Linked DNA regions of Homo sapiens: all the other regions are linked to region 1. Evidence: promoter capture Hi-C in 16 types of primary human blood cells and fetal thymus (Javierre and others, 2016). All regions are on one chromosome and are shown on one strand. Each heading gives the region's core, a stretch centred on a gene start or on the middle of the fragment in contact. The rest is flanking DNA. Distances are from core to core; before and after follow the strand shown. Region 1 holds the start of THAP5 (THAP domain containing 5). Region 2 holds the start of TMEM168 (transmembrane protein 168). Region 3 has its middle 18 kb from the start of LSMEM1. Region 4 overlaps TMEM168 (transmembrane protein 168). Region 5 overlaps IFRD1 (interferon related developmental regulator 1). Region 6 overlaps LOC105375457 (a long non-coding RNA gene). Region 7 holds the start of LSMEM1 (leucine rich single-pass membrane protein 1).

What was found. The method cuts DNA at HindIII sites, captures the fragments that hold promoters and counts their contacts. A CHiCAGO score of 5 or more calls a contact.
Region 2: the fragment with the promoter of TMEM168 here is called in contact with the fragment with the promoter of THAP5 in region 1 in 9 of 17 cell types (naive CD8 T cells, total CD4 T cells, non-activated CD4 T cells and 6 more); the score reaches 34.9 in naive CD8 T cells.
Region 3: a contact is called between a fragment that was not itself captured here and the fragment with the promoter of THAP5 in region 1, in 3 of 17 cell types (M2 macrophages, M0 macrophages and activated CD4 T cells). The highest score is 17.9, in M2 macrophages.
Region 4: a fragment that was not itself captured here is called in contact with the fragment with the promoter of THAP5 in region 1 in 3 of 17 cell types (total CD4 T cells, activated CD4 T cells and fetal thymus); the score reaches 9.7 in total CD4 T cells.
Region 5: a contact is called between a fragment that was not itself captured here and the fragment with the promoter of THAP5 in region 1, in 11 of 17 cell types (total CD4 T cells, M2 macrophages, naive CD4 T cells and 8 more). The highest score is 25.2, in total CD4 T cells.
Region 6: a contact is called between a fragment that was not itself captured here and the fragment with the promoter of THAP5 in region 1, in 9 of 17 cell types (fetal thymus, total CD4 T cells, non-activated CD4 T cells and 6 more). The highest score is 26.5, in fetal thymus.
Region 7: a contact is called between the fragment with the promoter of LSMEM1 here and the fragment with the promoter of THAP5 in region 1, in 8 of 17 cell types (total CD4 T cells, activated CD4 T cells, M2 macrophages and 5 more). The highest score is 17.8, in total CD4 T cells.

The regions. Positions count from the first base shown.
Region 1 is chr7:108,568,393-108,571,943 of GRCh38, forward strand. It overlaps THAP5 (THAP domain containing 5), which reads right to left and starts at 1,314. Exons shown (of 3, transcript NM_001130475.3): 1 at 1,098-1,314. The coding sequence starts at 1,177. DNAJB9 (DnaJ heat shock protein family (Hsp40) member B9) reads left to right here and starts at 1,482. Exons shown (of 3, transcript NM_012328.3): 1 at 1,482-1,711; 2 at 3,325-3,551. The coding sequence starts at 3,335. RefSeq lists enhancers at 897-1,376, 910-1,637. The HindIII fragment of the contact is 6,219 bases long and covers 371-3,551 here.
Region 2 is chr7:112,788,799-112,792,204 of GRCh38, forward strand. TMEM168 (transmembrane protein 168) reads right to left here and starts at 1,595. Exons shown (of 5, transcript NM_022484.6): 1 at 1,362-1,595. RefSeq lists an enhancer at 1,854-1,983. The HindIII fragment of the contact is 5,754 bases long and covers 1-2,716 here.
Region 3 is chr7:112,497,473-112,500,849 of GRCh38, forward strand. No RefSeq gene overlaps it. Among named protein-coding and RNA genes, the nearest start is that of LSMEM1, 18 kb to the left of the region's middle. The HindIII fragment of the contact is 1,751 bases long and covers 592-2,342 here.
Region 4 is chr7:112,770,402-112,773,742 of GRCh38, forward strand. It overlaps TMEM168 (transmembrane protein 168), which reads right to left. Exons shown (of 5, transcript NM_022484.6): 4 at 2,380-2,654. Among named protein-coding and RNA genes, the nearest start is that of TMEM168, 18 kb to the right of the region's middle. The HindIII fragment of the contact is 1,873 bases long and covers 604-2,476 here.
Region 5 is chr7:112,461,982-112,465,621 of GRCh38, forward strand. IFRD1 (interferon related developmental regulator 1) reads left to right here. Exons shown (of 12, transcript NM_001550.4): 7 at 20-198; 8 at 289-397. Among named protein-coding and RNA genes, the nearest start is that of IFRD1, 13 kb to the left of the region's middle. The HindIII fragment of the contact is 1,655 bases long and covers 424-2,078 here.
Region 6 is chr7:112,438,604-112,442,137 of GRCh38, forward strand. LOC105375457 (a long non-coding RNA gene) reads right to left here. Exons shown (of 3, transcript XR_001745325.2): 2 at 2,915-3,110. It also overlaps a transcript of IFRD1 not described here. Among named protein-coding and RNA genes, the nearest start is that of IFRD1, 10 kb to the right of the region's middle. The HindIII fragment of the contact is 9,318 bases long and covers 1-3,534 here.
Region 7 is chr7:112,478,708-112,482,584 of GRCh38, forward strand. It overlaps LSMEM1 (leucine rich single-pass membrane protein 1), which reads left to right and starts at 2,284. Exons shown (of 4, transcript NM_182597.3): 1 at 2,284-2,639. The HindIII fragment of the contact is 7,612 bases long and covers 1-3,877 here.

The sequences.
Region 1 (3,551 bases), core at 64-2,563:
CGGGGTTTCTCCATGTTGGTCAGGCTGGTCTCAGACTGCCGACCTCAGGTGATCTGCCCGCCTCAGCCTCCCAAAGTGCTGGGATTACAGGCGTGAGCCACCGCGCCTGGTGGGGTTATCAATTTTTTTTCCATTAATTAAAATACTGGAAAGCAGCCGAATCATTAATGAATAAGTCCTTCAGGTCTAAAGTAAAATGAGCACAAAACAACTGCTGAAAATCTGAACCAGGTTAGATCTAAATGAATTGTTTTTAAATACAAGAAAAAATGGAAATGCAGTATTTTAAATATGTTGCTTTTCATGTGTTATTAATCATGTGAGTACTATTAACATCTCCATGTTACAGATGAGATATGTGAGACACCAAAGCTTAAATACTTTCCAAGAGGTCATTAAGCTACAGAATAGTGGAACCAGGATCTAGCATTGAAGCCTGGACCCCTAATTATTATACGACACTGCTTGTCTGTACTTCTGAATAAAAATCAGTGCTTCAGTAGTTTGATGGAAATATATCGTGGCTCTAGTAATTCAGAGTAACAGAATAAAACCTTGTTCTCCGCAGAGTATCTACAGCCCTAAGCAGAAGACTAGTTTATAATTCTGGCTCTGACACTAAACTTTCAAGGTCGGTTACCTAATCATTCCGGGCCTCAGTTTCCTCAGGAGAAAAGTGGGATGAAATTATACCTATGCGACCTACCTCGCGGGGGGTGTAAATTAACTTTGCGTGCACCTTTCCACTTCGCAGGTTTCACGTATCTTAAATGGTGGTTAATGTTGTTCAATGAAATGAGATCACGTGAAGTGGGGAAAAGACTGAAAACCACAGAAGCCCGCGCAAACTTTACTGTTTTAACTGTTAACACCCAAACAGGCTCCTGGGCCTCGCCACCAGCCAGCAGTCCTCGCGCAAGAAGGGCATTGCTAGCTAAACTGAACTAGCGCCTTCCCTCCGTCTTGCCGCGGGCGACGGGCCACGTACGGAGAGCTGAGGACTCACTGGCAGAGCGGACAGGAGACACCCAAGCCCAAAGGCCACAGGTCCAAGGCCTCACGGCGAGGCTGACGCTTCTGCTCCAGAAACAACTTACGGATAAAAACTCAGCTTCCGGTCTTTATTGTTTCGTCCCCGGCGGTTCTTACAACAAATCGCTGCGCAATAGCGGGGCATGACTCGGGTGAGGCCCCTGGAGACCGGGGCCGGCGACGGATGCAGGGCGGCCCTCCTCACTGAGGATGCGCCACAGGTCCAGGCCTCTCGAGCCCCTGCGCCTGCGCTAGCATTCTGCCGGGAAAGCCGCCTCGTCTGTCGACTCACTTCCGCCTCCTCCGGTTTAAGCACCGCCTTTTCGGGGGTTGAAGCCGGAAGTGGCGCACAGCCCTAGCAGCAACAACAGTTTTCCACGTGCGCGTAGGGCGCCGGGATCACGTGGGGAGGCAGAAGCCAATGGGGAAGCGTTTCGTGTAGGTCTTCTGAGGTGGTGGCGCCAGCGGCTACCTCCTGCCTGTGAGGAGCTGGCTGAGAGGGGACTGGGCGCCGGCGGGGAAGGAGGAGCGCTAGGTCGGTGTACGACCGAGATTAGGGTGCGTGCCAGCTCCGGGAGGCCGCGGTGAGGGGCCGGGCCCAAGCTGCCGACCCGAGCCGATCGTCAGGGTCGCCAGCGCCTCAGCTCTGTGGAGGAGCAGCAGTAGTCGGAGGGTGCAGGTGAGGGACGAGGCCGGGGTCGTGGGGAGGGGAGTTCGGAGGGTCCCCGTAGCCCAGGCCTGTCTTTGTGAGCTGACTTGGCCTCGGTGTCCGCCACGGTCGCCGCAGGGACAATGGGCTGCATGTTTTTGGCCGAGAGAATGGAAGAACGGAGACAGCCGCATCACAGAATCGTGTTTTGGGTTGTGGCGCCGGCTTTCACGGGCGCCGGATTAGAGCCCGGGTCTCGGGCAGCTTCTGCGGCGGGGCCTGGGCGGGCAGGGAAAGTGCCAGTCGCCTTTAGGTGAAGGTTGGAGGGTCTAGCCCAGCCGCCCACCGAGGCTGGGGAATAAGGCACGGGCTGCTGGCTGGCGGGGCCGTCTTGGGGATGAGAAGTCTGTACAATACAAAACTAGTCTGCTAAAAAAAAATCATTAGATGTCCACCTTGAGACCGTGGAATAACGTCTGCTGAACCAGTGAGGCGCCTCCCTGTCAGTTTTAGATCCGCCCTTTGACTAGGGAGCAACCTGCAGTTGACGCAGCGTCCATGGGACACACTGTTGTGTTCCTTAAACCGAGAAGTGGTTCTTGATTCTTGGTACCCGTGACTACGAGTAACTCTCTGGAAATAAGTAATCTACCTGCCTGCTAATTACTCTCAGGAAAGGCCGCTGGAGAGGAAGCCAGGCAATTTCCACAAACCGTAGTGTTTTTCGTCAGCCTTATTATGGCATTATAGGTTACTAAGGACTCTGGTGGTCCCGTATTCAAAAAACAGGATCCATCCCTTCGTTTTGAATCTCAAGTCATTGAATACATATTGTCAAGAATTCTAAGTTAACATTTCTTTAATGGTTTAAAGGTAAAAGAAATATTTTAACTACTGAGTTTGTGAAAGTAAGAATCTGCCTTAACCACAGTACAAACTATCAAAGTTCATTTTTCTGGCAGCTTTAGCAGAAATCTTAAATTCTGTTCATCATGAGTTTTAAACAATATTTAGCCATGCTTCCTGGTTAAACATTTGGGATCTTACATTTGGGAAAAAGACAACATTCTATTGTATTGTCAGTATTAGTATTGTGATATTAAGATTCTCTATTTGCAGTCCTTGGCTCACCTGCTGAAATGAAAGCTGAATTTTTGGAGCGAGATTAATAATACTAATTTAGATATACTGGGCTATTTACCTTGGTGCGCCACCTTTTTTTTTTAATGTTTTTTTTTTCTGTGAAGTTAAATACATTATTACTTTCAGGATATGAAGTCTTGAAAGGAAAGTTGGGATCTTATATTATTTGGTTTTCTTTTTTTTTCTTACAATGCTTGCATATGATGAATCTTCAATATAAACTGGTTAAAAGTCAGTTATTGATAATTTTCTATCTCCTCTGTGTATGGCCAGAGTATTAGTAGACAGACAAAGCCAAGAATTATTTTTGTTCTCAATAAGGTTAAGCCAGTTTGAGAGTTATAAAACTAAAAGTGAAATTACATGTGGACAGGTAATAGATACTGTATGCTTACTATTTTGATACTGCATTAGGTTTACCTTGTGTTGGATTTCTTTTAAAAGAAAAACGTTTTAAGATTAGCTCCATCCATAACATTTTTTTTTCTTTTCTGTTTTAGGATATTAGAAATGGCTACTCCCCAGTCAATTTTCATCTTTGCAATCTGCATTTTAATGATAACAGAATTAATTCTGGCCTCAAAAAGCTACTATGATATCTTAGGTGTGCCAAAATCGGCATCAGAGCGCCAAATCAAGAAGGCCTTTCACAAGTTGGCCATGAAGTACCACCCTGACAAAAATAAGAGCCCGGATGCTGAAGCAAAATTCAGAGAGATTGCAGAAG
Region 2 (3,406 bases), core at 345-2,844, 4.2 Mb after region 1:
TTTTTTAAATGTTTCTACTTCTCGTCCCCAGGGTCACCATCCCAATTTTGGCCACCATCATGTTGAACATTTCCCTGTATCCACTCTTGCCCTCTCTAAGAAGTGTACTTTTTAAAACCAAAATTTAGCACTCCACTATGTAAAATGCTCCAATGGCGTCCCATCACCCTTAGCAATAAAGTCAAAACTCCTTACAGTGCCTTATAAGGCACTCCGTGTTGGGCCTGAATAACTCTCCTGCCTTATCTGTTACCAGTTTTCCTCTCACACTTTATTTTCCAACCTTACTGACCTTTCAATTACAAACTGCACAAATGCTATTCCCTTGCCAGGTACACTCCTTTTCCTCCTCCTGGCCCCACCCCAGTGCTCACACCTGGCTTATTCCAACTCTTCAGGTCTCAGATAAATCATTTTCTTAAGAGATTATCCCTGCCCCCTCCCCATTACATGACCCCCATACTTTCTCTGTTACATACCATCACTTATTTCATGTCTGCATTTCCCACTAGATCAAAAGGTCTCTGAGGGTTTGTCTTCAATACTGTACACCCAGTGACTAGCAAAAATCCGGCATCAAGAAGGTATTCAATAAATACTTGTTGAAAAATAAAGACTAATAAAGAAATAACTACATTTAACAACAATAGTCACCATTGGACACTTACTAATGCCTAAAGAGAATACAGAACTTAGCTATATCCCACAACTAATAACTAGTAGAACTAAGGGAGAGTCCATGAATGTTTGGTTTCTATTTCAGCTTTCCACCAGTCTTTACTTAATTCACCCAAATTCTTCCAAACCAATTCTCTCTCCATGTCCTACCTCTAGGGAATGGCTTGAGGCATACCGTATCACTTGCATTATCTTTCACTCAGAAACTCTGTCCCATCTAGAAGTGTCAAGGCTGAAAGAACTACACTGAAAAAACAGGGAATTTCAGTGCTTCAGTTCTGAATTACTGATAACTCTTTGAGCCATCTCATACGAGGAAAATGTCATCTAGAATATCAAACTCCTCAGCACTAGAGCAGCAACAGCAATTTCTCTCCCTTTCGGCCTCCTTCTAGCGAGATGTGGGAGGTCCGACAAGGAGCTTGGCTGTTCTCCACCATCCTCTGCCTCGGAGAACGCGACCACAACGTGGCGCCCAGTTGAGGGGGAACCCTTGCGAAATACGGAGAGGCGCTCCCACACCCTCCAATCTCCAACCACCACTGTCAACTCCTCCAGAGGCAGGTATCCTACCCCGGCCCTGGGAGGCCGACTGGGCGGAGCTTGGGGTCCGGACCACGCGGAGCCCTGGCAGTGTCTATGCCTAGATCTCGCCGCCCTGCCGTCCACCCATTTCTCCCTACCTGACTCGGCCGTCGCCACCAACGCGCTCTCCCAACCCTCGGAGTCAGTTCCAAAACCAAACCAAAAAGGAGGAGAGCAGACAAGGCTTCAGCCTGCGACTGAGAACAGGGAGGCGGCACGCCTTGGGGAACGAGGGCCCGAGGCCATACGCGCTAATACAGGCCAGTGTCGGCGTAAACTTTCTCCGTTACCGGCCCGGCCGCGACCGCCATGTTTCCGCCGCCGAAATCCGCGACGGTACGGAACGCCGCCGGGGTCAAACTGCGCGGCGCGCCTCCTTCCCGAGGCCCGGCCCCCTCCCCGCCCAAACCCGCGCGCCGCCACACACTCAGGTGAGCAAGGCGCTGCGCGAGTGTCAACTGCCCCACCTAAGGCGCCTGCCTTCCTCAAGCCAAAGTCGACTCCTGGGACCTGGAATCAGCAGCTGAGAACAGACAGCGGGAAGACCACCAAAGATCAGGCTGACAGTGCCCATCAAGCATCTAGGCCACCGCCTCGGGCTGGACCGAACGGGGACAGGGTGGACAGGACTGCCACGCGTGGGCTGTAAATACTGCGGGAGGCGTTGCTGCTCATTAATATATATGGCATAATATATGGCTTTGTAACCAGCTAAGGCCCAAGCTCCTTAGGCCCTCCCTCAGACCTTTCAGTTCCTCAAATGCAGGGACATGTCGGGTTTTGCTCAACATTAAATCACCTTAGCATAGTGCCTGACACATAGTTGGCACTTAAATATTTGTAAAATAATAATATGCAATAGGCTCTCCACGATCCGTAGTTCTCTCCTCCCACTTGTTTTGCATGTATTATCTATATATTTTTCCTATTTTCCATAATAGAGTGTGAATTTCCTAATTTTCATAATAGATGTTGGGGGTTGGTGTGGCCAGCACATCTATAGGAATGAACAACTCTCAGATTGAGATTCTGCATATGTGGATGAAAATTTTGAGTTAGATTCTCTCTAGACTCCTGATTTTAAAAGCAATCACAACTCAACTTCCCAAATCTGTAACTAGCTCTCTGGGGAACACGAGTGCCACATTTCCAACTACCTGCTAGATGTTTCTACTCAAATATATTGTCATCACTTCCAACTCAACTTGCCTTTAATGGACATTTATATACATTTATTATGCCCCCCATTTGAATCCCCTTCCGTATTTGGAGAATTCCCCACCTGAGTTAAGAGTCTAATGGCTGCCGCTGAAATGCTGAACACTTGTTTAACTAATCATGTGTACCCGCTGGAAGCCATGAGTCAAAAAAGGCACAGAAAGCTACACTCCCAGGTCACCTGTAGGAGTATAGCAAGTGTAGAGATCGAGAACCCATCCCTAACAGCAAGGTAAGCTTCCGAGGCAGTAGTGAGAGTGCTGGCATCCACCATTAACATGTCAGAGATGCAAGATGCCTGTGCTTGGTGAGGGTCACAACCCCAGAGCCCTTTCCCAATCTGTTCTGTAGCCTGTTAACAGTCTCTGTGTACATTTCTGGGTAGCCTGTGACAGACTCTGTACTACATAGCTGTGAGGCAGGACAATAGGGTCTGGAGGCAAGGAACTTACGGCTGATTCATGCTGACTTTCTAGAACTAAATCAAAAGGAAAGCCCCAACTTTCCACAGCTAAGTAACAAAGGGACCCGGCCCCCTCCCCCACCACCGCCCTTTTCTGCGTGGCAGACGGAAAATTGAAAGTACCTCGGATTGGTTGCTTTCCATAACTAATTAAATGTTTGCATAGGGTGTAACCTTTGTAACTTCGCTTCAGGCTCTGATTGGTTGCTTTCCGCTATCAGACTGATTGTGGGCCACTATATTTGCGTGGGGTGTACACCAAGTGGCCAATGGGAAACCTCTAGAGGGTGTTTATACCCCAGAAAATTCTATAACCCGGCCGCCCCGCTCTTGAGCCCCATGTTCCGGCTCTTCACACCCTGTGGAGTGTACTTTCATTTTCAATAAATCTCTGCTTTTGTTGCTTCATTCCTTCCTTGCTTTGTTTGTGCGTTTTGTCTAATTCCTTGTTCAAGATGCCAA
Region 3 (3,377 bases), core at 217-2,716, 3.9 Mb after region 1:
CTCTAAAATGTTTTTGGTTTTGCTTCCTCAAGGAGTCCTACCCTAATATTTTCAGGCACCAGATGGACTTTGGAGTCAGGTGAACTGGATTAGAATCTCAGTTCTGATTCTTAAAAGCTGTGTGGCCTGGGAAGGAAACTTAACCTCTTTCTCAGTTCCTTCCTCTCTGAAAATGAGGGTGATAACATTGACCCTATAGTGGTTGAAAGGAGATCACGTGTTTGTGAAACACTTAGCATAACTCCTGGTTCACAGTCAGCATTCCACTGGGCTGTAACCACCACGAGGGTAGAGACCATGTCTCTCTTTTTCATCCTTGAAACCTTAGTGCCTAGCAGTGTCTGGCAGACAGAAGGCTTTTTGAATAAATGAGTAAAGAAACAGTAGCTTTTAGGAATGTATTTATATACATATGTATTTCCTACAGTTTCCTCCTTATTAAAATTGCTTGGGGATAAGAAACCTCTAATTTTCCTAGGCTTTCTCTTATTTGCAAATGCATCTGTTTACTCCTCAAAGGTGGATTGTGGATTCTTCATGAAGAAGAATGATTTAACCTGGAAAGATTAGAGATGTCAGTTGACCAGGGAAAGCTTTTCTTAACTTATAGTGACCTTTGTGGAGGAATCCATTGCTTAGTGGACTCTGATGATGCAGCTCGTCCAGTCAAGGTCCACTCTCCTTGACTTTGCAGCTGCTGTCCTGGGGAAGGATGATGAGGGGGAGCTCAGTCAGCAGGTGAGACAGAAAGGGGGTCTTGCAGGAAAAGGAGGTGAATAGATTGTCCTTGTTCTTGCTTTACTCTCTACTCAAATTTGTCTGGTTTTTGTTTGTTTTGTTTTGTTTTCAGATGTAGGACAAAAGAGACATTTTGCTGGTAGTGGTGCAATTCTTTTTTTTTTTTTTTTTTTTTTTTTTGAGATGGAGATCGCAGTGGTGCGATCTCGGCTCACTGGAACCTCTGTCTACTGGGTTTAAGCTATTCTCCTGCCTCAGCCTCCCCAGTAGCTGGGATTATAGGCACCTGCCACCACGCCTGGCTAATTTTTTTGTATTTTTAGTAGAGACAGGGTTTCACCATGTTGGCCAGGCTGGTCTTGAACTCCTAACGTCAAGTGATCTGCCTGTCTTGGCCTCCCAAAGTGCTGGGATTACAGGCATGAGCCACTGCGCCTGGCCTGTGGTGGAATTCTTTACAGTCTGAATTTAGTGCAGGATCAGCTATGTGATTTGTGGAGCCCAGTGCAAAATGAAAATGCAGTGCAGGCCCCGTGTTTATAAATTCTTAATAATTTCAAGATGGCAATAGCAGAATATTAAACCAAGCACAGTGTCCTCTGCAACTGCACAGGCTGACAACCGAAGAAACTGCTCTAGTTTAGAGATTTGACAGACAAGAAAGTCTGTGTGTTCCTGACATTTTCTGCAGTGTTCAGCTCAATTCCTGACTTACGAAGTTTAGAAAAAGAAATACCCAGCCAGTAAGTCCTCTCTTCTTCATAAAGCTCTGCTATGTTCCCTGTGATTTACACCGTCTTGGTCTTTTGGTTTGTTTTGCCCAAGACCCTGAACGTCTTTGCATTATGGTTTCTCCAGGTTTAATTCTTTTTTTGTTGTTGTTTTTTTTTGAGACGGGGTCTTGACCTGTCACCCAGGCTGGAGTGAAATGGTGCTATCATAGCTCACTGAAACCTTGACCTCCTGGGCTCAAGTAATCCTTCTGCCTCAACCTCCCAAGTAGCTGAGACTACAGGTGTGTGACACCATTCCTGAATAATTTTTTAAAAGTTTTTTTGTAGGAATGGGGTCTTGCTTTGTTGCCCAGGCTGGTCTCAAACTCCGGGGCTCAAGTGATCCTCCCGCCTCAGCGTCCTAAAGTGCTGGGATTACAGGTGTGAGCCATTGCGCCACTGGGCTGTGCCACCACTCCGGGTTTAGTTTTTTTGTCTGCCTGCTCTCATCCTTTTTGTTAGAAATTTGAATGTGCACTACATTCTTTCATTCCTACATTCTTTCTTCTTTGCATTTGTTGTCCTTTAAACAGATTTTCCATCTTTAATTCATTTACATTTTTTTTAAACTGTCCTTCTACGGTCATTTTAGTTTTCTCTGGATGCCTTCCAATTTTCATTTTTTCCTCAGCAAATAAAGTGTTTAAAATGGAGTGTGGTGATCTAGGAGCCATGGATGTGAAGGCAGAGCTTAGGCTGCCTTGATCTTAGGAGACCCAGCTTATAACTGGATGGTTCGCTAACCCCCCAGCAACTGTTATGCTCTAAATTAGACCCACTCTTTTCTCATGGTTGGCTTCTGACCCAGTATACTTGGCATTTCCTTTTTCAAGCTTTTCCTACATCCATTTTGTATCAGCTTCCTAGGTGTAGTTTTACTTCCAATTATTTTAGCACTCACCTTTAGTTGAATCTTGATTGATTTTTGACTATTTATTTTCTTTGGCTCCATACCAACTTATTCTTTGGTCTTAATTTTTGACCTAAGAAAAGAAAGTCCACCCATATTGGGTCAGATATTTAGCCCAGGATTCTGCTTTTGGCAGTCAAGGATATTTTATGGATGAATATGGTGGTTTTCCATAGTTCATCTGAGTGATTAGAAATTAAAAACACATCATGGATCTATAGCATATGATATTAAATTCTTCCTCATAGCTGTTTATTTCTGTATTTTATTATAATTTTTGGCTTTCTGACTTCCCTCTCTTTCCCTTCTCTTCTCTATTGCCTCAGTCTGTAATTTCTAAAGCAGGTTTTGTGCCTTCAAGACTATTGCCTGGGATTGGGTAATCAAACTAAACAAAGCATTGGAAAATCTATATCTATAAAGAAACAGAATTGTTGTTTATTCCTTGTAAAAAAAAAAAAAAGCAAACTCAAAATCTACTAAAAGAATGGGAGTTGCTTCACAGACCTGTTGGAAGAGAAAAGACATCATTTCTGAGTTTGAATGACTGCCATAGATAGGTATGGATATGAATTTATCATGCTTAATATGAAAGGACAATTAAAACTGTGCCTGATGTCACCCATTTGTGTCTAGATCTTAATGTTCTCAACACTAAATGAACATAAAAATGGAAAAAGTCCTAACAATGATCTTCAGTTCAAATATACTGTTTATCTGGAAATGGTAACATTGCTGAAGTTTTTGGTACTGAAATTTACATTTTTTTCATTGATTAAAGATGTTTGAACAGCTCATTCTCTTAAAAGTAAGTTTTAAAAGTGATCTACATATGTAGTTAATGGCTAACAGCTAATGTATTCTAAATTCTAAAGTGGATTTAGAATAAAGAGCAGAGAGTTTTTCCACTAGGTGGTAGGATTTTGCCATGGTCATGTCTCGAAATGTTGCGAGGA
Region 4 (3,341 bases), core at 290-2,789, 4.2 Mb after region 1:
CACAAGAACAAATCTTAGCTAACAGAGGAATTCTGTAACGGTCAATTTACTGGTAGCATACTTCAAAAAAATTATAAAGACATCATTCTAGAATGTAACTGCTAAACATTTACCTAAAATACAACTCTATTTTAGTGTTCTTAAAGTCTTCAAAAATTATTCCTAACAGTGAATGAAAATTTAGAAAAACTGCGAGAGATATATATATGTGTGTGTGTGTTTATCTTAGTGTTTTTACTTTTCTTAGAAAAATAAAAAGCTGATATAAGTATTAGTAAATGAACATCTAGAATTGATTTCCATAGCTATCTTTAAGAAATACTTAATGAATTTTAAATTACTTAAGAAAAATGCAAACTTTTTGAAAAGTGTTTCTATTAAGTAATAAATCCTTCATATAAACACACATAAAAAGCTTACTTCTAAAATTACTCTAACACTTTAAAATAACTAGGGATATATGCATGGCCACCAAAAATTAGCCCTGTTTTTTCCATTTGATCTGGGTAGAGTTTATTATCATAAGGATTATAGTAAGTTTCAGCAATCTCTGCTTTTAGATCTAAAATTCTATTTCTGTAAAGGCTATTTTAATTGACTAAAAGCTTTCTCTTGTGCTCTGAGTTGGAATACACAGAACGTTATACTTTACCTGAAACTGAAGTAGCCATAAAGGTTAAAAAGATGCTTTCTACGTTGTAATTAAAAAGTTATAGGTCAAGTAAATGATTTTATAAACTATATTCAATTAGTTTTAATGTTCAGTGCATCTTTTAGTCTTGTACATTCTAATGTTTTGAAATGGGTGACCCATGTTAACAAAAATATCCACTTAACCAGAACATGCCATTCCTTTATCATCATGGCTTTCACCCTTGGAGGCAACATGGTAGAGTGGGGGGAAAAATACACTTTAGGAATCAGGCAGATCTGGTCTTAAATCATGGTTCTATCACATAGTGGTATGACCACAGATAAGTTACATAACAACTTTCAATTTCCATTTCATCGTTTGAAAAATGAAGATAACAGAAGTGATGGTATCTATCTCAAAGGATTTCACATAAAGATTAACAATGTGTGTAAGGTACTAAGTACAGTAAGCTGATGCTTAAAATGTACCCAATAAATATTAGCTTGTCTTTCTACTAGAAGGCCACTGAGTTATTCAATATTTATTTGCAAAAAAGAAAAATTTCAAAAAAATATTTCTCCTTATGATAAAAACCTCAGTTACAAATCTGGCATGAAATCAATGAGATCATGCTAGTTTAAAATCATCTCTACCTTAACCTTTTTGTTTGTCTCTTTCTGGAGTTCTTATATTGGCAACTCTGCCTCTGTCCTTCCATACTACTTCTATTTATCTTTTTCTTTATCCTGAATGTTTCCACTTTATTTATGACTATTTTATTATTTATATATTCTTGGTTTAAAACATCTACACTTTTATGGAAAAAAAAATCATGTAATTAAATCTAAAATAACTATTTCTAATCTAAAATAAGAAAATTACCTTTTTTAATGATTTATTCAATGATTTCATCTATCTATCAGCTACTTAAGGATCCTCTACTATGTATTGGGCTCTGTTATAGGTCCTAAACAAGTAACAGTTGATAAAACAAAGCCCTTGACTTTCTCTCTATTAATAGTTGGAAAGACTGACAAATTTATATATGATATAAAGAGATCTCATTTCTCTCTTGGCAATAACTAAGAAGTTTTCTATTTCCCATAATGCATGCAAACCAAAGTTATTTTATGTTTTTTCAAATGCAAAAAAATCCCTACAGAATTTTGTACCTTAGAATAAAACTCAATGGTCATTTACAATTACCCCCTTATTTTACAGATGAGAAAATTGAAGCCAACAGAAGTTAACTAACTTGCCTAAAATAACACAGCTGTGGCAAATTAGGACCAGAACCAAGGTCTCCTGACCTAAGTGCTACTCCCACCATACTACATGATCTGCTGTTTAAAATTTTGGTGAGCTTTATAACATAAATAAAACTACAGATGTGAAGGACTACTGAAATCTGCATCCATAACATTTAAAAACTTAAAGATACTAGTCAAAGGAGTTTATCAGCTTCTGAAAAATATGTTTAGCAATTCTGAAAATATTTTAAGGGAAACTGTAAGTCTCAAAGCATTTTTTTCCTTCTAATCACTATAAGACGTAATTCCCAATCTTATCATTAGAGATTAAATTAGGCTAAACAGGTATGCTAGAGCAAAGAAAAACAAATTAGAGTCATATGCATAGTTCAGTAAACTAAGAATCCTGGAAATTTAACGACTGTGTGTGAAGTACAGATTTCTACATATACATGTGTATCTTTACAATAGTGAAACTGCCAAAGGTGAGTTTACCTGCTAGAGCCCACTCTCCTGTACCATGGGTGTGCCCACTGTAATACAAAATATACGTATCATGTCTGGGTCCATCCACTGTCCGAAGTTCGAGGAAAGCTTTTAGTTTGGAATGCAGAGTATCAAATGACAGTCCACTTGTGGAATAGTCACATCCATAGGTCTCAATCATATGATATGCAAAAAATCTTTGGATAGCATTGAGCATGCCAGTAGACCTCAAATTTAACTCCTGTACATGTTCTGGGGGAAGCAGTGTTGGCTGACCATCAGGACTGAAGTAGGAGAAAAAACAAGAAGTACTCATTCTATATCACATTCTCATCTGTCATTTGTAACTGATTATCTAAGAATCAGTTATAATATAGTTGCTGCTAAGTGGCAGGATTTTTGTAAAAAATCACCCTTTCTAAAATTCCTATAGTACTGAGAATTAAGCTTAGAAAATCAAAACCTGGTTTCTAAATATTATATTTACTATCATTAAAACAATAATCAAATTAAAAGCTGGGATAATGTCTCCAAATGTAGATAGTATTACTCTTTGTTCCTTATTCGTATTTTCTTACATGACAAATATTGGACAAGGTTTTTTAAAAGCAGGATTACACTGTTTCAAGAACATCTGGGTGGGGACTATTAAAAAAACTTCTTTAAAAATATTATAACACAAAATAAAAAAGCAATATTTTAATTATATATTTACTTCTGTATTGAAAAATAGTCAATAAAATTGTGTTCAAATTTTATTAACTTAAGGTACATAAATAATAGAAGAAATTATCTATTAATAGGCATTTAAAAAGTTATTAAAATTTAGGTCCATTGCTTTATACCACTGGACACTAGTTGAAGACTTAGATTTACTCCTAGAACAAATATAAAATGGTACTCTAGTACAAAGATGATAAAGCAAGTCTTATAACTAGCAAAATACCATTAATATTGAGAAAGAAAAAATC
Region 5 (3,640 bases), core at 1-2,500, 3.9 Mb after region 1:
TCATATTCTTATGCATTAGGAACTATACTCAACTCTGGAATGTTTGGAAAATATCTTCACTAAATCCTATCTCAAAGAGAAAGACACTACTGTTATTTGCAGCACTCCTAATACAGTGCTTCATATCAGCTCTCTTCTTGCATGGACACTACTGCTGACCATATGCCCAATCAATGAAGTGAAGAAAAAGCTTGAGATGTATGTATTTTTAGTTTCATATTTTATAAAAGCAACATTTAGTGGACATAATTGGTTGTATTCACATAGTAATGACTAACTATTTTTTAGGCATTTCCATAAGCTTCCAAGCCTCCTCTCTTGTGATGATGTAAACATGAGAATAGCTGCTGGTGAATCTTTGGCACTTCTCTTTGAATTGGCCAGAGGAATAGAGAGTGTAAGTATCTAACTGGCAGAGGAAAAAGCTTGTGTCACAAGGCCCATTGTTCCATCATTACCTTGCAATTGAGAATTGGGCAATAACTTTGGAACATGGCCAGCTTGAGAACCCAGTGATTTATTTCCCTACTTCTTGGCAGTGGTGGTGTAATACTTTAGAGAGCAGAAACCAGTAGGGGTTGGTACAGCAGTGTTTGACTGTGGTTCATTATACTTAATTTTTGCTATCTATAGAACTGAAGTTTAGGGATCCTCATGGAGAGAGTTTTGTCTAATATAATCTTTATGAAACTGCTTGAATTTCTCAGATACCCAATACATCAAGCTAATGAAGGCATGTGATGCTTCATAATTAATATCAAACAAATGAATAAAATATTAAGTCAGCATAGGTTTGGGATGAGATGGGTTCAGTAACTTCTCTAAGCCAAAGATGGAAATAAACACTGCTCATTAAGACTGGGACATGTGCTTTGCAGTTACCCATTCACTTGTCCACTCACAGATGTTAGTTACCATGGCTTGGCTCTCGAAGGGATTTGAGTTTGTGATAGTTTGATCAGTCGACCCAATTTGCTTTGTACCTGTTTTTGGTTTAGCACTTACCATCTTATGTTCCAGGAAATCCTTTATCTCGGGCAAACTGGGTCATTTGGTAACCCTAATTTGTCATCTCTATTTTAAGGATTGCTAAGAGAAAGGAATGCCTCAAATCTTACCATTGGAAGGGAGAATGTATTCTTAAGATATGTGATTCAGATACTGTGCTGATATTTAGAAATGAGGAGCAGGTTTGACTGTCTTCACACTGAATCTGTGAAGGATCCAATAAGAAAACTCAAATATATGGGAAATGGGTAACTAAATAGTAGATATTATTGCCAACCTTGAATTACTTACTAGATGCTTTTTAATTTAAGGAGAAAGAATATATTTTCATTCTGAAACTTTTTTGCATTTAAAGAAGTTATTTAACAGTGAACGGTTCCAAACAGGATTAATACAGTTCTGCCATGTATAGTCATTCATATTCCATTCTAGGCCTGTATTGAAGGAAGTTTACAGTCTTAAAATTTTTATGTGTAAAGTGGCTCTCTCCAACTCCCCTACACTCCTTTTGTTTGAGGGATAGTAGGTAGGAATGGAAAGTAAGTTAATGTTGTCAGTAGCTAATAATTCTCCTTATGTGAGAAATTGGACTCAAATTTAGCAATCAATTTAATTTTATTGAGCTAGTTAATAGCTTCTTAACCTCAACGCATGGAAACCAGATGTCCCAATTTTTAATCTTACATTCCTCTACTGGCCAGAAATGGCAGTTTCTTTTCTTTTTTTTCCTTGGAAATGCATTTTTAAAATGAAGTCATAATGCAGTTTAAATTATACATGTTGAATTTGTTTAAGTTTGTATAAACATATATATAGACACATACATACATGTATATACATATACATATATATACACATTTATATACACACACACACACACACACACACACACACACACACACACACCCCACGTATCTTTTCTCCAACTTAATAAATTACACAGGATAACCAGGAGAACTCATCCAGACATATTTCATTTGACTTGAATTTTTATCCAAGGACAAAAATGAACTGGGTTACAAAACAGAACCTAGTGTTTTTATTTGCTTTTTTTTTTTTTTTTTAAAATAAGCTTTTTATATGTGGGTGCTGGTTGGGGGATAGTTATAGGGTGTTCAAAAATTAAATCCAGGGCGTTAGTGAAATACATAGACAGATTTAAAATAGGGTTCATACAGCAAATGAGTTTTGAATTATTCAAGGCTTTTTGCTAACTGACTTTCTGATGTTACTAACTTTGAAATCTAGTGATGTCATGAATTCTGCCTGAGAGACTTAGAAAAAAAACTTTTGAAGAGCTAACTTTTAGGTTGGATTTTAATGAATGAGTTGGTTAAATAATAATAATAAACTGTGTTCAAAGTTGAAATTAGTAATTATTACTCCTTTATGAGAGTTCTAGGTTAATGGATGTTTGCCATATAACCAATTAGATAATAGTAGACTCTGGAGCTGTTCTGCCTACCTTCGGATCTCTTTCTCTCTTACTAGTTGGATAATATTGGGCAACTTCTCTATGCCTCGGTGTCCTTATCATTAAAATGGATAAATTATTAGTCACAACCTCATAGAGTTTTTGAGAACACATGATAGGTACAGTGTAAGTGTTAGCTGTTACTTGGAATGTTGGTTGAATTGAGTATTGCATTTGGCAGTAGTCTACTAGTGGCCTTTTAGGAACTGTAGAGTAACTTAATATAAGAGACATTATTTGGTGGGCAGAATTAAGATCTTGGGAGCCATTGCTGGTGCAATCCTCACTTGGGAAAATTTAACAAAATATAGTTAGACCTTTTCCAGGTCTCACCCATTCCATTCCCCAGCTGAGCGGACAGGGGAAGTGCTACAGCACAGCGAGAAAAAAGATAATCAAAGACCAAATATACTCCTTGGAGCCAAATCTGAAATCACCTAGATTTTATACTTCAGAAGCAGCAACTTAGCATTCTTCTTGTTTTTTTGCCCTTGTTTGTATAATAACTGACTCTGTGTAAAAATATCTCCATACCTTGACAAAGATATTCTGCCTTGATTAGCAGGAATTGAAATAAATAAGTCTTTTTAAAGACAGGGTCTCACTCTGTTGCCCAGGCTGGAGTGCAGTGGCAAGATCATACCTCACTGCAGCCTCAGAGTTCTGGCCTCAAGCAATCCTCCCTCCTCCTTCCAAAGTGTTGGGATTATAGATACAGAGCCACTGTGTCTGGCCTCAAGTTTTATTTTAATATTAGGCTTTTGTATGATTTTTATTTCTTAATACTTAGCTATCCAAGACCCAGCTTATTTTGTTTATAATGAGTGTTCCAGTGACTTCTGTATAGAAATAATAGCTTGGGGAATGGTTAGCTTTTGTGACCTTAAGCATCTCACCCTGTCTGCCTAAACTTTTCTGGAAATTTTCTTTGGTTTCATTTCATCCTAATTCCATTCAACTTTTGAAACCATTTAATTGGTAACTGTTATTTTGCTATGAAATAATTATCTTCAGCTGACCAGTTTGTTGTATTTATATTGTGTTAGATTCTGTTGTATTTATATTGTGTTAGGTTCAAACAGGCTGTTCATAACAGTAAGATCTATAACTTAATGGATGTTTATGTCCTGTGTTTTATATATTTCTAATAGTTCATTT
Region 6 (3,534 bases), core at 70-2,569, 3.9 Mb after region 1:
AGACAAAGGCAAATTTGTTTGAATGGATGCGTGAATAGAAATAACTTGAGACTAGAAGATACCTCCTTCGCCAAAAAAGACGAGGCTGTGGAAATCAAGCCAACAAATAAACAACCTTCAATCTATATATGTAGAGTCAAATTAACCCTATTATCATGTGGGTGGAGTCTGTTTTATTCCCTCAGTTTTTGGAATATAGCAAAGGTACCATTACTCACCCATCATGGCAACACTTGTTTAGAAGGAAAACTACCATTCATGAATCATTGACCTGAGCATAATGAAAGTTAGCCACCTGGGATACCGTTGACAGAAAAATGGATTCCTCCCGTTGAAAGATGTTTCGGTTAAAAAAAGTTCTGATGCCAATTAATAACAACAACAACAACAACAAGAACAGTAACAAACAACCCTATTAAGGACCATTAAGGGAAATGAAAACTCTTAATCTGGAAGCCAAAGATGGGTAAAGAACAAGAGAGTGAAAAAAGCCCAAAAAGCAGTCATACACAATAATAGTGGGCATAGAAGGAAGGAAATTCTCCAAATACAGTTTTAACAGGGTGTCCTTGGACAGAATTCTGTGGAGGCGGAATGAAGTGGGCAGGGCCCTATGTTCGTACATTGTATGTACAAAACAGCAGGTGACAAGAGTGAGGATTTCAAAGACATTTTCTTTCTTGGAACATATGGGACTTTTAAGGGAAGTAGGGGGATAGTTCGGGGATTATTTTTACTTATTTCTGAATGCATATAAGACTGTTAGAAATTGCCAAATGGTATCATCATTTTAAAGAGATTGTTAGATGTAACAGTATCAGTTGAGATGCTTTCAGCCCCAAGCCACAGAAATCTCAAGTTTAATTTTTTTAAAATATTAAAAGCATTTATTATAATCACATAAGTGGTCTAGGGGTAGGGGATGGTAGGTGGTGCCTGTTGGTTAATTCAGTGACTCAAAAACCTCATCTATGTTCTTTAACCCTTCTCTTTTGCTATTCTTGGTAGTTAGCTTTGTTTGCCTTTATGCTCACAAATGACAACATCCAGAAAAAGACAAGACCATCTGTTCATTTGTATTTCTCTTGGGAAGGAGAAATCTTTCCCTCAAGCCCTCAACTCTTACACCTCACTGGCTAGAGCTGTGTTCTGTGCCCAAGAATAAACCATTTATAAGAGGAATCAATTATAAGAGGAATCAATTAAAAGAGGAATCGATTATGACCCAACCCCTGGAGCTGGGGTCCAGCCTTCCCCTGAAGCACATGGCCCCTCGAAGGAGGTTGGATATCTGAACAAAATTGGGGTTCTGAGAATAAGCAAGAGAGTAAGATGGATCTGCGGCAGGAAATCAATGATGTCTGCAACAAATTAATTTCAAAAGCCATTTTTTTTTTTTTGAGATGCAGTCTTGCTCTGTCACCTAGGCTGGAGTGCAGTGGTGCAATCTCGGCTCACTGCAACCTCTGCCTCCTGGGTTCAAGAAATTCTCCTGCCTCAGCCTCCAGAGTAGCTGGGACTACAGGCGTTCGCCACCATGCCAAGCTAATTTTGTATTTTTAGTAGAGATGGGGTTTCCCAATGTTGGCTAGGCTAGTCTCGAACTCCTGACCTCAAGTGATCTGTCTGCCTTGGCCTCCCAAAATGCTGGGATTACAGGTGTGAGCCACGGCACTCGGTCACAAAAGCCTTTCTTGAATGGAATGAAAATATTTACTAAGTGTGTCTTATTTATATAAGGCTGATAAATCTTTTAGCAGTCTCAGCAGTTTGATAAATGGTTAGTTTTCTCTCTTGATTTTAATAAAACAATTAACATAATTATAATTTAAAGACTATTTTAAATAAATATTTAAATGTGATAAGCCTGGTACGGTCAATTCAGTTTGGCATAGGTTTTTAAAGTGTCTGTTCAGAATTCTTTTGGCTGGATTGGTTCACAATAAATATCAGTAATGATGAATGAAATTTGGCAGTTCACTCATTCTCCATAATTTAGAAAGGTGCTAACATGCCTCCAAAGTGTTAGAGAATCTGTTCCTACTTCCTACTGCCTTTCATCTGAGTGTAAAAGATAGGCTTTTAAAGTCCCACTTGCAAATGCCTGGACAGTTTTCTGGAACTCCAAGAGACACTAATCAAAAAAACAGAGGAGTGCTAAGGAGAAACTGTAAACTATCCTAGTTTGCAAGAAATAAAAACTGACTGGACCTAACTTGAGCATAAGAAACAATTTATTTTAAAAGTTCAGGCTGGGTGCAATGGCTCACCCCTGTAATCCCAGTACTTTGGGACGCCAAGGTGGGCGGACTGTGTGAGTCCAGGAGTTCCAGACCAGCCTTGGAAACATGGCAAAACCCCGTCTCTACAAAAAATACAAAAATTAGGCTAGGCAGGGTGGCTCACACCTGTAATCCCAACACTTTGGTGGGAGGCTGAGGAGGGTGGATCATGAGGTCAAGAGATTTGAGACCGTCCTGGCCAACATGGTGAAACCCTGTCTTTACGAAAAACACAAAAATTAGCTGGGCGTTCGTGGTGTGCGCCTGTAATCCCAGCTACTTGGGAGGCTGAGGCAGAAGAACTGCTTGAACCTGGGAGACGGAGGTTGCAGTGAGCCAACACCACGCCACTGCACTCCAGCCTGGGCAATAGAGTGAGATCCTGTCTTAAAAAAAACAAAAACAAAAACAAAAACAAAAATTAGCCGAGCATGGTGGTGCACACCTGTAGTCCCAGCGGCTTTGGAGGCTGTGGTGGGAGGGTTACCTGACCTCAGTGAGCTGTGATCGCACCACTACACTCCAGTCTGGGTGAGAGGCAAGACACCATCTCAGAAAAAAAAAAAAAGTTCAGGATGTTCCCTGGAAGCCTAAGGCAGGAATTCAATTGAGTCTCTGGTAGTTCTGCCTACCTGGAAGTGGAAGCTCATGACGAGATGGGAAGATCCATTTCTTGTCTCTGCTTCTCTCTACAGTCCTGTTTCATTCTCTCCTCTCTGCAAACTGTCTTTCTTGTTTTTTCATGTCTGTGGTGGGCAGATGATAGCTACTTTTTATTCTCTGCTCAGAAGACAGTCCAGAATCTTTGAGTGTCTCTCAGTTCTAATTCTGAATTCCAAGGAGAGAGAATCTGATTTACAAATAATGCTGAGCTCTCGTGCTAGACTAGGAACTTTATGAGGCCAAATACTCTATTTTCAGGCATCCCTTTGTCTCATGCTCTAGAACATGCTTAGTATATAGTGGACACCTGAGGAATGTTTGTTGAAGGAACTGAGACTTTTCCAAAAATGATGACTATCCAGTGTTGAAACTAGCGGCCCTGAAGAGTTGTGTGATTCCTAGCACTCGCAGAATTTAAGAAAAAAATGGATAAATATCTGCTTACTAATATTAATGGCTAACATGTACTGTTTCATACATTCCTCATTCATATAGCTTAGATTAAGGAACTTGCACACAGTCACCAAACTAGTAAGTGGTTGATAAGGCATTTTGACTCTAGTTCTGTCTGTCTGGATCTAAAACTCGG
Region 7 (3,877 bases), core at 1,034-3,533, 3.9 Mb after region 1:
TCTTCTTACCATGTTCAATACATTTATTGAGCTCTTCAGTATTGTTTCTTCCTATTTTAATTTTTCTGGTTTTGTAATTTGTACTCCTGCTTTTTTACTGGGCTTTTGGGAGGAAGAAGGTATAGAGTGTTAATCTGCATGTTGAATTTATATGCAGGTGACTTTATTCATGAAACTTGTGGTAACTGCTAGACAAGGGTGGCTGGGTGTTCAATGTGTAAGAATGCTTGTGTTTTCTTGAAAGTAGAAAAATGTTGTGTTATAGACTAGTTGTTCATTGCTTGATTCTTGATTAATTTTGCCCGCTTTCATTATTTTGAGGCTCAAGCATTTTGAAGTATTCATTGTCTGTGACTCCTCTTTGATGGGTACTAAATTTCCTGGGAGTGAATTTAGATACCCTGAGATGTAATATATGAAAGAAAAAGCAAATACTTGAGAATGTCCCTAGATTAGACACTTCATGTGAGAATATCTCTTTTTGTGACCCAAAACTCTTTTTTTTTCTTTTGAGATGAAGTTTCGTTTTTGTTGCCCAGGCTGGAGTCCAATGGTATAATCTGCCTCAGCCTCCTGAGTTGCTGGGATTACATGCATGTGCCACCACACCCGGCTAATTTTGTATTTTTAGTAGAGATGGGGTTTCTCCTTGTTGGTCAGGCTGGTCTCGAACTTCCGACCTCAGTTAATCTGCCTGTCTCGGCCTCCCAAAGTGCTGGGAATACAGGCATGAGCCACCGCACTCGGCCCCAAAACTCTTCTTAAAGGTGGTCTTGCAGGTATGTTATAGTTAAAATGAAGTAGGTTGTCTTGCTTTGTTCTTAAGTGGCTTTCCAGAAGTCTAACTGGTCTAAAGGCAGTCTTATCCCCCTCACTGGTGTATAGTTCAATTCAGACTTGAATGCGAGGTATGGGTTTACATCTCATCTCTGCCACTTATAATCAGTGTATCCCTCAACAATTAAATTCCTTAGTCTCCATTTCCTTCCTCCTTCAGGGGAAGTTAATATTCCACAAAGTTAGAAGTTACAGGAGAGGAAAAGTAGTAAACGCCCCAAAATGAGGCAGTTACTTCTATTATATCTTCAAAGGATACATGGCTCAAGGCAGATCAGGTAGTTGGGAGATTTCTTAAAAACAGCATAATAGCTAACATGAACATTTTCATTATTCAGAGAAATTTGACATAGCTTTTTAACGTATGTTTCTGAGAAAAGTTACTAGTTATATTGTCTTCCTCCAAGAATTAGTCTTTGGGTACAGATGAGGCTTGAAAAAATGACATTCCCTCTTAGACTAGGTAGTGTGAAGGGAAAAAAAAAATGACATTCCTCTTCCCCCAAAGCAGAGTGAGGTCCGTATGGGATATAGGTGTAAAGAAAATTTTGGGCCGGGCATGGTGGCTCAAGTTTGTAATCCCAGCACTTTGGGAGGCCGAGGTGGGTGGATCACTTGAGGTCAGGAGTTCAAGACTAGCCTGACCAACATGGTGAAACCCCATCTCTACTAAAAATAAAGAAATTAGCCAGCTATGGTGGCACATACCTGTAATCCCAGCTACTTGGGAGGCTGAGGCAGGAGAATCTGGAAGCAGGAAGGTCTCAGTAGGCTGGGATCATGCCACTGCGCTCCAGCCTGGGCAACACAGCAAGACTCTGTCTCAAAGAAAATTTTGTGGAACACCTATTTTCTCACTGACATGAAAAATGTTTCAAAGATGAATAATGTCCATCAAGCTATGGCAATGGAAGTGAGGATGATAAAGGATTGCACAGTTGTTCACAACCTCACTGTTAGTATCCTGCTGAGATAGTTGGTCTCCTCATCACTGTAGCATCTTTTATGTACAGCAGAGGGCAGAAGCTCCTTGGCATGTATGTGAGGGAACCACATATATGGAAGGCTGTTATTCCTGAGAAAGGAGGATGTGCAGACACTCACAGAACAAAGCCTTTGTAAAGGAAAGGCGGCCGATGAGATGGAGTGCTTCCTTCACCTGTGGTGGGTCTGTATCCATGAAATCGCCCACTCACAATCGCTTTTTGTAGCTACTGGAAGCACTAGGCGTCTGACCTGCCATCATCCTTGTTATGATGTCATAATCATATTCTGTCCGTGTTTATTGCAGTTCTCTGGTTTGTCTGGAGTGTTTGCAAGTCAGTCATCATAGTGGCAGCTTCCGCCTGCTACAGGATATTTATATATGGAAGCATACCATGGCAGGAGTGCTGGAAAGGTGGTGTCAGCTAACAGTTGCTTCAGCCAGATAAGGACGGTAACTTCAGTCCAATAAAAACCTCATCAGTTACCAACTAAATCAGGGCATGGTGTTTTTTTGTTGTTTTCTTTTTAAAGCATAGTTTTAGTAATATATTTACTAAAAACCTTAGACATTATGAAAAAAGTCAGGATTTGGAATCTTACACTGCTTGGCTAAATTGACACAATATAGACCAACAGTTTCATCCTGGGGCTTATGGGTCTCATAGGAGCACCCGTATGCTGAAGAAAGGCAAAGAGAGAACTACAGAATTTGTAGAAAAGTTTTGTTGTAGTTGCTTCTGAACAATTAGTTTTTGTTTGTTTGTTTTGTTTTGTTTTGTTTTTCTGGTAACCTAGCAGTCAAAGCTCACATTTTTGTAAGTAATTTGCATGCTATTACTCTACTGAGACTGAATTATGATTCTCGAGTCTGGGAAGTTTTTGTTGCATGTGCTCTGTGTTTTTCATTTTTGATAGAAATGATTTAGACTTGATTTTAAAAATTACTTCCTGAATGTGAAGAGGCATTGACTGGGAAATGAAATTAAAGAACAAATTACCATGACTCATTCAATAACACTGCTTATTAGCTTTGAATTATGCCCTATTATAACAATTCTGATTTTGTGGCAAGCAATACTGGTGTGAGTTATTTCTGTGGTTTGATACCAAGCACCTGCCTGGTTAAAAAATAAAGCACCAGGCAATTTTTCATAGACAATTATCTTTATTTGTTGGAATATTTATTTGTAAATAGTCAAAGAATTCTTAAATGACAAAAAATCAACTGTTAGCAGTGATCTAAACCAGAGGAAAATGAAATTACTTACATGTTTCCAGTCAAGGTATAAGAAAGGGTTCTGTTAAAGGGATGCTGCTTTAGCCAATCTTGGTGAATAAGCAAATTTGCACACTGGAGTTGAAAGGAGGGTCAAGTTAGTGTGATGAAGAATTGCTAGTAACACTGGCTTCTCCAGCCTTGCTGGTTGTTCCTAGATGCCCTCATTTGGAGATGCCAAAGATAGCAACTACTGGGTGTCAAACAGCCGTGGGGCCTGGTTTTAAGGCCATGTGATCTTGTATCCCTTTACTAGCAGCCTCATGAGTCATTTGCAAGTCATTTGCAGGCTCTTGGAGCCCTGGAACAGCACCCAACTCAGTTTTCTCTGCTAGTTCTTTATTTTTCCATTTGCGTGTTGCAGCTCATTAAAAAAATATTGGAATAGCATATATTTACATTGTGACTTCACTCTAAAGAAGACATTTTCTTTCAAAGCACGTCATGGCTCACTAGGTTGTTGTCTTAGTTTTTTTTGGAGTCACCTTTTGAGTAGATAGCAAGACCAGTAATATGGAGATTTTATTAGCTGTACTCTTAAAGTCAGTTTTTGTGGCCATGATTTTCTAGCTAGGTCTCTATTTTGTAAACATTGATTAAGCCTCAGTATGAAATTGAAGCAACAGCAGATACATTCCTGAAGGGGAAGCTAAGGCTCAAGGCTATTAAGTCAGAGATCCAAAAATGAACCATGCTTCAGTTACCACACCTAAAATAGAAGCTGTGTGCAGAACAGTGGTCCTGTGATGTGACACATAAAACTTTTTTTCCTGGTCA